3 separate regions of the Homo sapiens genome follow, and all the other regions are linked to region 3. Evidence: promoter capture Hi-C in 16 types of primary human blood cells and fetal thymus (Javierre and others, 2016). All regions are on one chromosome and are shown on one strand. Each heading gives the region's core, a stretch centred on a gene start or on the middle of the fragment in contact. The rest is flanking DNA. Distances are from core to core; before and after follow the strand shown.

What was found. The method cuts DNA at HindIII sites, captures the fragments that hold promoters and counts their contacts. A CHiCAGO score of 5 or more calls a contact.
Region 1: a fragment that was not itself captured here is called in contact with the fragment with the promoter of SIX3 in region 3 in 1 of 17 cell types (fetal thymus); the score reaches 5.3 in fetal thymus.
Region 2: a contact is called between a fragment that was not itself captured here and the fragment with the promoter of SIX3 in region 3, in 1 of 17 cell types (total B cells). The highest score is 5.4, in total B cells.

What each region holds. Positions count from the first base shown.
Region 1 is chr2:45,492,909-45,495,608 of GRCh38, reverse strand. All of the region lies in intron 14 of SRBD1 (S1 RNA binding domain 1), which reads left to right. Among named protein-coding and RNA genes, the nearest start is that of SRBD1, 120 kb to the left of the region's middle. The HindIII fragment of the contact is 286 bases long and covers 1,211-1,496 here.
Region 2 is chr2:44,371,326-44,374,025 of GRCh38, reverse strand. It overlaps CAMKMT (calmodulin-lysine N-methyltransferase), which reads right to left. Exons shown (of 11, transcript NM_024766.5): 2 at 1,138-1,310. Among named protein-coding and RNA genes, the nearest start is that of CAMKMT, 11 kb to the right of the region's middle. The HindIII fragment of the contact is 1,229 bases long and covers 761-1,989 here.
Region 3 is chr2:44,940,388-44,943,087 of GRCh38, reverse strand. It overlaps SIX3 (SIX homeobox 3), which reads right to left and starts at 1,386. Exons shown (of 2, transcript NM_005413.4): 1 at 178-1,386. The coding sequence starts at 983. It overlaps SIX3-AS1 (SIX3 antisense RNA 1), which reads left to right and starts at 1,210. Exons shown (of 2, transcript NR_103786.1): 1 at 1,210-1,378; 2 at 2,255-2,700. RefSeq lists enhancers at 1-343, 1,426-1,952. The HindIII fragment of the contact is 26,724 bases long and covers 1-2,700 here.

The DNA of each region.
Region 1 (2,700 bases), core at 104-2,603, 550 kb before region 3:
AGTGGTACCATTAAATACTTTATGGTATGGCAACAACTTTATGTTGGTATCAGATACAGGTAGAGAAAAAAGATAAAAGAGGGATTTTGAAAGAGAAAAGCAGAATGCGGGGAGAGAGGGAAGAGAGAGAGAGAGTGAGATGCTTACTGTGGAAGGTAAGGGGAAACAATTTCTGCTTACGCCATTCTTTGTTGAAATTTCTTCTACCTCAGTAGAGGTACTTAATCTACAAATAGGAAACAAACTTTCCATCTTTTTTGTCCTTCAGTTTGTTGATTTGCTTTTCCCCATGATGGCATTTGAAGGTACCATTGAGTTTGTCATCTCTGTGAAGTTTGGAACCCCAAAATCCAAATTAAAGCTCTGCTTTTTAGTTGGTAATTCGGGTCTGTCCATTTTAGGTTTATTTTGTGGTTGGAAAGTGTTCTTTTCATCCACTGTGGTATGGGGCACCAAAAGAGAAGTAGCCAAGATAATTCTGTTCTTTTGAAAGACTGCTCTGTAGCTAAGATTTGATAGGATGTCCATCCTGGAGTATACTTAGATCCTCTGGTTGGTAGACTTTTTATTTTCTCCCAGGCTTGGTGTGGATCCTCTGTGTGATAACTGTACCACTACTAGAGTTGTTCTCTGTGGAAAATGATCATCTTTTTTGAAACATAACAAACTTAAAAAAACAAAAACAAAACGCTGGTAATTGAAGAATTGCTTCTAACTTGTCCTCCACCAGATGGTGCTAGTGTTACGTATCTAAAGGTAAACTCCTTTGGTATTGAAGTAAGGAGGTTGTGTATTTTCTTTCTCTTTTTCTGCCTCACCATATTTTGCCCTTAGTACTTTTTCATACATGCTACTTTCCTGGCATACTGCTGCATCACTTCACATATTTTATATTGTAGATAGTGAGCTGGTTATGCCTTAGTGATCATGAAGGATAACTTGGGAGGCCAAGTAAAATTCAAGAGGGCAAGGACCAAGTGAAATTTAAGGATGTATAATTTGTATTTTCTTATAAGATTTTTTTAATCATTCATTTGCTTCTTAAATGGCCTGTGTGTAAAAGTTGAGAACTTATTCTTGACTTTTCTGCTTAGCTATCTTTCTTTTATGTTATCATAATGATGTCATAAAATGTCATTGCTTGAGATCTTCTACAAACAAATGATGTATTTACCAAGATTTAAGTTCACAATAACTTTAAAAGAAAGCTTGGTAAATTAAAAAAAAAAAGTTGGCCATTATCTGATATGATTCCCTGACCAATTAATAATTGTTCTTACATTTTTAAACCTTTTCTGATTACATATGAGTATTACATGGTTATTGCAGAAAAACTTAAACAAGAATACAATTAAAGTAATAATACATGTTTAAATACTATTAACATTATATTACATAAGCCTGCTTTTTCTTTACCCAGTTTTAACTTAATAATTTATCATAAATATTTTACATGAGATAAAAATATTTTACAATAATAATTCTTAATGAAAGCTTAATTAAATGAACACTGTAATGATAGGCATTTTTTTCCACTTTGTTTCAGTCACAGTTGTGCTATCATAAATAGTGCAGTTTAATTTTTTTGAATTTTTACATTTCATTTGCATGTATTGCTAAAAATATAATAGCTAGTTCAGAGAGAATGTACATTTTTGTGATTTTTGATCTGATTTTCAATTTACCATCCAAAGAGTTCTGCAGTTTGAAAGTCTTTGACGGGACATGATTCTGCTTGTTTCCGTATGTCCTCTTAATCACTAGATTACCTAATTTATTTTATTTTTTTTTTTTTTTGAGTTGAAGTTTCATTCTTGTTGCCCAGGATGGAGTGCAGTGGCGCGATCTTGGCTCACTACAACCTTCACCTTCCAGATTCAAACGATTCTGCCTCAGCCTCCTGAGTAGCTGGGATTACAGGCATGTACCACCACGCTTGGCTGATTTTTTTTTTGTATTTAGTAGAGACTGGGATTCACCATGTTAGTCAGGCTGGTCTTGAACTCCTGACCTCAGGTGATCCACCCACCTGGGCCTCCCAAAGTGCTGGGATTACAGGTGTGTGCCACCGTGCCTGGCCTTACCTAAGTTTTTAAGATGACTAGATATTGCTCATTTGAGAATCCTTGAAATGATAATTCATCATTACATAAAAGAATTTAAAATTGCTTTGATATTTTCTTAGAAGTAAGCTCTACCCTTTAAGCATTAAATCTCAGAGCCCCCACTGTTCGTGGTAGTTTAGTTTTTGGCCTTGTCTCCTATCCCTAAAATACAAACAGCTATTCTTTTGATACTTCAGAACAGGTTATCTCATATGCAAATAATTAAGATTTATGTTGGTTCATGTTTTTAGTGCTTTGTATTACTCGTTGAGAAACCTAGTGCAAGTCATTTAACCTCTCACGATATGTTTCTCAGTCTGACAAGTTGGAAGAATGTTTTTTAGATAAATTATTTTTAAAACTTTGAGATGAGCTAGGCATTTGGCATAGTGGCTTTTTAATACCTTCATTTTTGATAGGCAGAAGGAAGGAAAAGGGGAAGATGCTAGATATTTGTAGAGCCTGAAGAATTCTAATATACTTTTGTAAAGAATTAAAAAGGTATCAGTCAGTGTTGAGTAATTATATCCCAGTTGATTTTTGGTATCTTACTAAATAACTGCATTTTTATTTAAGCAAATTACTTTTAAATTAA
Region 2 (2,700 bases), core at 126-2,625, 570 kb after region 3:
CAGCCTCTGGAGTAGCTAAGACCATAGGCACATGCCACCATGCCCAATTAATTTTTGTATTTTTTGTAAAGGTGGGGTTTTGCCATGTTGCCCAGGCTGGTCTTGAACTCCTAGGGTCAAGTGATCCACCCACCTTGGCCTCCTGAAGTGCTAGGATTACAGGCATGAGCCACTGCGCCCAGCCGGCATTTTCAGTAAAATAGTATTATAAAACCAGATTCTAATTGTTCTTTCCTGCCCAACCTAGTCAATTTTTATCCAAATCCCAATTTTTAGCTATTATGTTTTAAAGCTTAGATATTCTAAACTAAAATAGCTCGAGAAACATATACTATAAAAAGATACCCTTTGTGAAAATTTTTTTCTTAAAATTATTCCTAGCCTCACCTAAACCTTATTCAGTCACATTTACACTTAAAATGTTTTTTGCTCTTCTTACAGTTACTGTAAATGTGCTCCTCCCTCCCTTTCAAAATGTGAAATACTGTCAGAAAAGGCAGATTTTATAAAATCAAACACCTACAGTAATATTGCAACATGCTAGAACATAACTGTGAGAGAAAATTAATTCAGTAAAATGGTATCTTGTTATTGCAGTCTGTAACTCTCTTGTCTCTTTTCTAATGATTTTTAAAGTCAGAACAGTCCATATGCTTCTTACAATATCAGTGTTTTCAGTTGAATTTTCTCCTTTAGTCTTAAGATTGATTCTATTCTGAAAGTAATAAAAAAATAAATAAATGGAAAAAATACCAAAGCTTGATTTTTCAGATTATTACTTGAAGGGTAGTTTGGAAAAATTCTGTTTTCACTTTCAGCCCCTTCTTTGCCTCAGAACAAACATGGCTTTTTGTCATAAACAAATGTTATGACAGAATGTTTAAATGAACCCTTTGATTTGCAACCACCTTATCTTCAAATGCCACTATATTTGTGAGAACTTGTTTCCTTTAGTCTGATAATACAGCAAGACCCAGTTAAAATAGCAGGATTTCCTAAAACAAGTTGTAAAACCTAAGTTCTGAAAAAGATTGCCCGTAAACTCAATAGAATAAATAATGATGATTCTTATTAGATTGTTTTTCTTATCCAAGAGAAATCTAGTGTTTACAAAATCTTAACTAGAATAATGGTTACCTTAAGGAGATACTGTATTCAGGACAGAAGATGCTTGTATATTGGACCCATGCACCAACCTCCTCTTCAGTTTCCCTTTCTTTGCCTTCTGTTACTGAAAACAGATTAAATGATTCAAATCTTCTTACAGATACATGTCGCAGGCAATCATCCAGGTGTTTTTGCTTCAGAACCTTTGAAATAAAGCCAAATATTGCAGTCATGTTATCTAAACATATAGTAAGTTTAGTGTTCAAAATGTTCAAAATTTAAGTGGTAAGGGGACTTTCCCTTCTAATAATGACAGATTAGATAATTCAGATATATCTCCTACTGAAGATAACTATAAAAGATGAACAAAATATTTTAAAGCATTACTTGAAGACATCAGAGAGCAAAGACAGTGAAGATTTACAAGTCTGATATCTTTTTTTTTTTTTTTTGAGACAGGATCTTACTTTGTCACGCAGCCTCACTGTCACCCAGCCTGTCACCCAGCTGGGTTCAGGCGATCCTCCTACCTCAGGCTCCCTAGCAGCTGGAACTAAAAGTATGCACCACCACGTCTGGTTAATTTTTTAAATTTTTTGTAGAGATGGGGTCTCCCTATATTACCCAGGCTGGATTCAAACTCCTGGGCTCAAGTGATCTTCAACCCTGGCCTCCCAAAGTGCTGGGATTACAGAAGTGAGCCACAGCACTTGGCTTGCAGTCTTATATCTTTAAAAGGAGAAAACCTACAAAGGTTACTCTGACTTTTGCAACCACTTTTCTCCTGGGGATATGTGTCAATTCTAAAAGAAAGAACCAAGAAGATAAGCTGCTTCTTTAACAACCTATGGAGCTAGGAGAGAAAAGTTGAATTTCAAAGCTTACCTAGGAATGGGGAGGTATATTGAGTATGCAAGGTATGTATGTTTTAGCATAATGAATAATTTTGCTGGTGTTGCTAAAAGCCAGGTTTTTAAGTGTGGGGCATATCAACCAATAATAATGCTTGGATTTTATTTGGATCCTCCTCCAAAATAATCAAATTATAAAGAAAAATTATGACAAAATGGGGAAAATTTGAAAACTGATCAGATATTTCATGACATCAATTAATTATTCTGGGTTGATGTGGTATTGTGATTTTTTAATGTCATTTTTATAAGTTCATAATGAAATATTTAAAGAAAAAATGACATCTGAGATTTGCTTCAAAATAATGGTGGTGGGGCAATGGGAGAAGTGAGAATAAACACAGCTGTTCATGAGTTAACAGTGTTGAAGCTTATCAGTACCTGAATGATTATTGTATTGTTCTCTCTAGCTTTATATATGTTTTATATTTCCCATGATAGAAAAATCTTAGATATAAAATAACTTCAGACTCATAAGCAAACAAAAATAAAGAAAAAGATATTTGAAAAGCCAAATATATTTGGAAACTAGGCAATGTACTTATAAATAACCTGTGAAACAGAAAAAGAACACATAATAAAAACTATAGGCCAGGTGCAGTGGCTCATGTCTGTAATCCTAACACTTTGGAAGGCTGAGGCAGGAGGACTGCTTGAGGCCAGGAATTCCAGACCAGCCTGA
Region 3 (2,700 bases), core at 137-2,636:
CCCACAGCCAGCCCGGCCCCCTCTTCCGCGCGTCCCGGACAAGCGGAAACTTTCTCCGACTGGCCAGGAGTCACGGCTTCCCTGGCTCTCAGCGGCCGCTCCGCTAGCCCCATCTCAACCCCTCTCCCCTTCCCAGGCCTCTGAGGCTGTAGCCAGGCCGCGGGCCCCGCCACTAACCTGTTCTTGGCCGCCGCGGCGCGGTCGCGCTGCCGCCGGTTCTTAAACCAGTTGCCTACTTGTGTGGGAGTGAGGCCGGTGGCCTGCGCCAGTTCGCGTTTCTTGCTGGGGTTGGGGTAGGGGTCCTGTAGGTACCACTCCCGCAACAGGCTCCGAGTCCGCTCCTTGAAGCAATGCGTCTTCTGCTCGCCGTCCCAGATGGTGCGTGGCAGCGGGAACTTCTTGCGCACGCGGTACTTGTCCACCGGGCCGAGTGGGCGGCCGCGCAGCTTCTCGGCCTCCTGGTAGTGCGCCTCGAGCCACATGGCCTGCAGCTTGCCGTGAGACTCCTTGGTGAACTTGTGGTTCTCAAGGATGTGGTAGAGGTCGCGGAAGTTGCCCGTGTGGAAGGCGACCACGGCGCGCGCGCGCAGGATCGACTCGTGTTTGTTGATGGCCTCGCACGCCCCGGGGGCCACGGGCAGCGACCAGAGGAAGCGGCCCAGCCGCTCGATGTCGCCCGTCTCCTCCAGCGTCTCACAGACGCTGGCCACCTGCTCCGGCGAGAAGTTGAGGGTGGGCAGCTGGAACATGGACAACTCTTCCGGGGGGGCCCTGGAGCCGCCGCCGCCGCCGCCGCCTGCTCCGCCAGCACCGCCGCCTCCCGCACCGTTCCCGCCGCCGCTGCCGCCTCCCGCGCCGCCGCCGCCTCCCGCACCGTTCCCGCCGCCGCTACTCGCCAGAAGTATGGAGCGGTGGTGAGAATCGGCGAAGTTTGGCAACAAGAAGTGGGAGGAATAGAGGTCTAGGGGGGAGCGGAATACCATGGACTGACCTGAGAGGAGAGGAGAAAATTCAGGGAGAGGAAGAGAGAGGGGAGGAAGAGGAGGAGAGGGGCGATGAGGACCAGGAGGAGGGAGAGGAGAGGGGGGAGGAGGAGAAGGAAAGGAGGGGGGAGCAGGAGGAGGAGGGAGAGGAGGAAGGGCGTAAGGGACACCCACACCCCACACACATCCACACACACACACACCCGCGCAGCCACATAGAGAGGGAGGTAGGAGAGCGGCCCGGTGCGCGCGCGCAGAGAGAGAACCCGAGACAGAGAGGGAGAGGGAGAGGGAGAGAGGAGAGGGAGAGCCAACCACCGCCGAGTCAAGATTCAGCGATTCCACCGCAATCGCCCTAATGACAACAGCCTCATAATATCTCCCCTAAATCCACAGTGAGTGCAGCATTGAAACATTTTGTTTCGCTTTTCTATTGGTCTGTGGCGTGTCGTTGTGGCGTTGCCACGGCAACCACTGCCAATCACTGTCAGCCCTGCCAATCAATACCGAGAACGTAAGGACGGTTTTACCACTTAGCCAGAGGGCGGGGGGAGGGGGAGAGCAGGGAAGGAGGGAGAAGTGGGGGGATAAAGAGAATTTTTTTTATCTTTGCAACTCTTAATCTCGCTACCTCCCCCTCCTCTCTTCTCTCTTCTCCCTCTCTCTCCTCTTTTCTCTACCGCTGTCTCTGAGACTTCTTCTTCCCTTTTTCCTAAAGAAGTTGATCCAGAAATTCGAAAAGCCCTGGGCAGAGTTGTTGAATGGGATGTGCAATTAGAGAGGGGATTTTGTTGGGAGGCAAGAGGGTCCCCCAGGCTCCACATAGTCCAGGTCGGCAGGCAAGGAAAGACGGCTGACCAGCCCAGCGGGCGCGGTTTGCACATGGTTTGCACGTCGGGCCGCCTCTTTCTGCCTATGTGAGCACTAATAGTGGCAAGGAAGAAAGGAGAGATGAGATCATGGGGCCCACCAAGCACCGACCTTGGCCCAGCGGGCCGTGGCGCCAGCCGGGGATCCCGGATTCCGAGGGTATCTGGCGCCAGGGAGCCTGAGCCCAATTCCCAGGGTGCTGGAGGCCGCTCTTGCCTCCCCCATCGGTGCCCATGGACCGCATTCACCTCAACTCCCTCTTCATCAATTAGGCTTCTCTTTACTCCCTCCCCGGCCAAGGAGCCTCGATTTCCCCCACCACCCTGTATTTTAAAATAACAGTCCAAACAGTACACTTCTTTCCATCTTAAGAAGCAACTCAACTCTTTGTTTCTTCCCAGAATTCAGCTGCCTCTCTGAGGAGTGGTGGAGGAGCTGCGGGAGCCGAGAAGCCCAAGAGCCCTCTGGACCCAGAAAAGTCCTACAGATGCCCACTCCTCACCACACAACAGAAGGAGCTCTGGTCCTGCCTGCCAGCCCCAGAGGGCACTCAAACTTTGGAGGCCAGCCACCCGGATGAAGTGAATAAGGCCTGAAAATTGCTTGTTTGCTCGTATTGTAAAATAATAATAATTACCATTATTATTTTTAAACTGTCTAATTTCTCTAGGGAAAGTAACATCGAAAGCCTAAAACAGACGCCAAAAGGCCCATAGAACACAGAGGGCCCTCTCTGCCTCTGGCCACCACAGCCCCTAGGCCAGGCATGGGTATTTATTCTTAGGTATGTTGCTTTTAAGAAGCTGTAATCAGCATCTTGAGCCGGGCCTCCCTTTGTGAGGCTTCT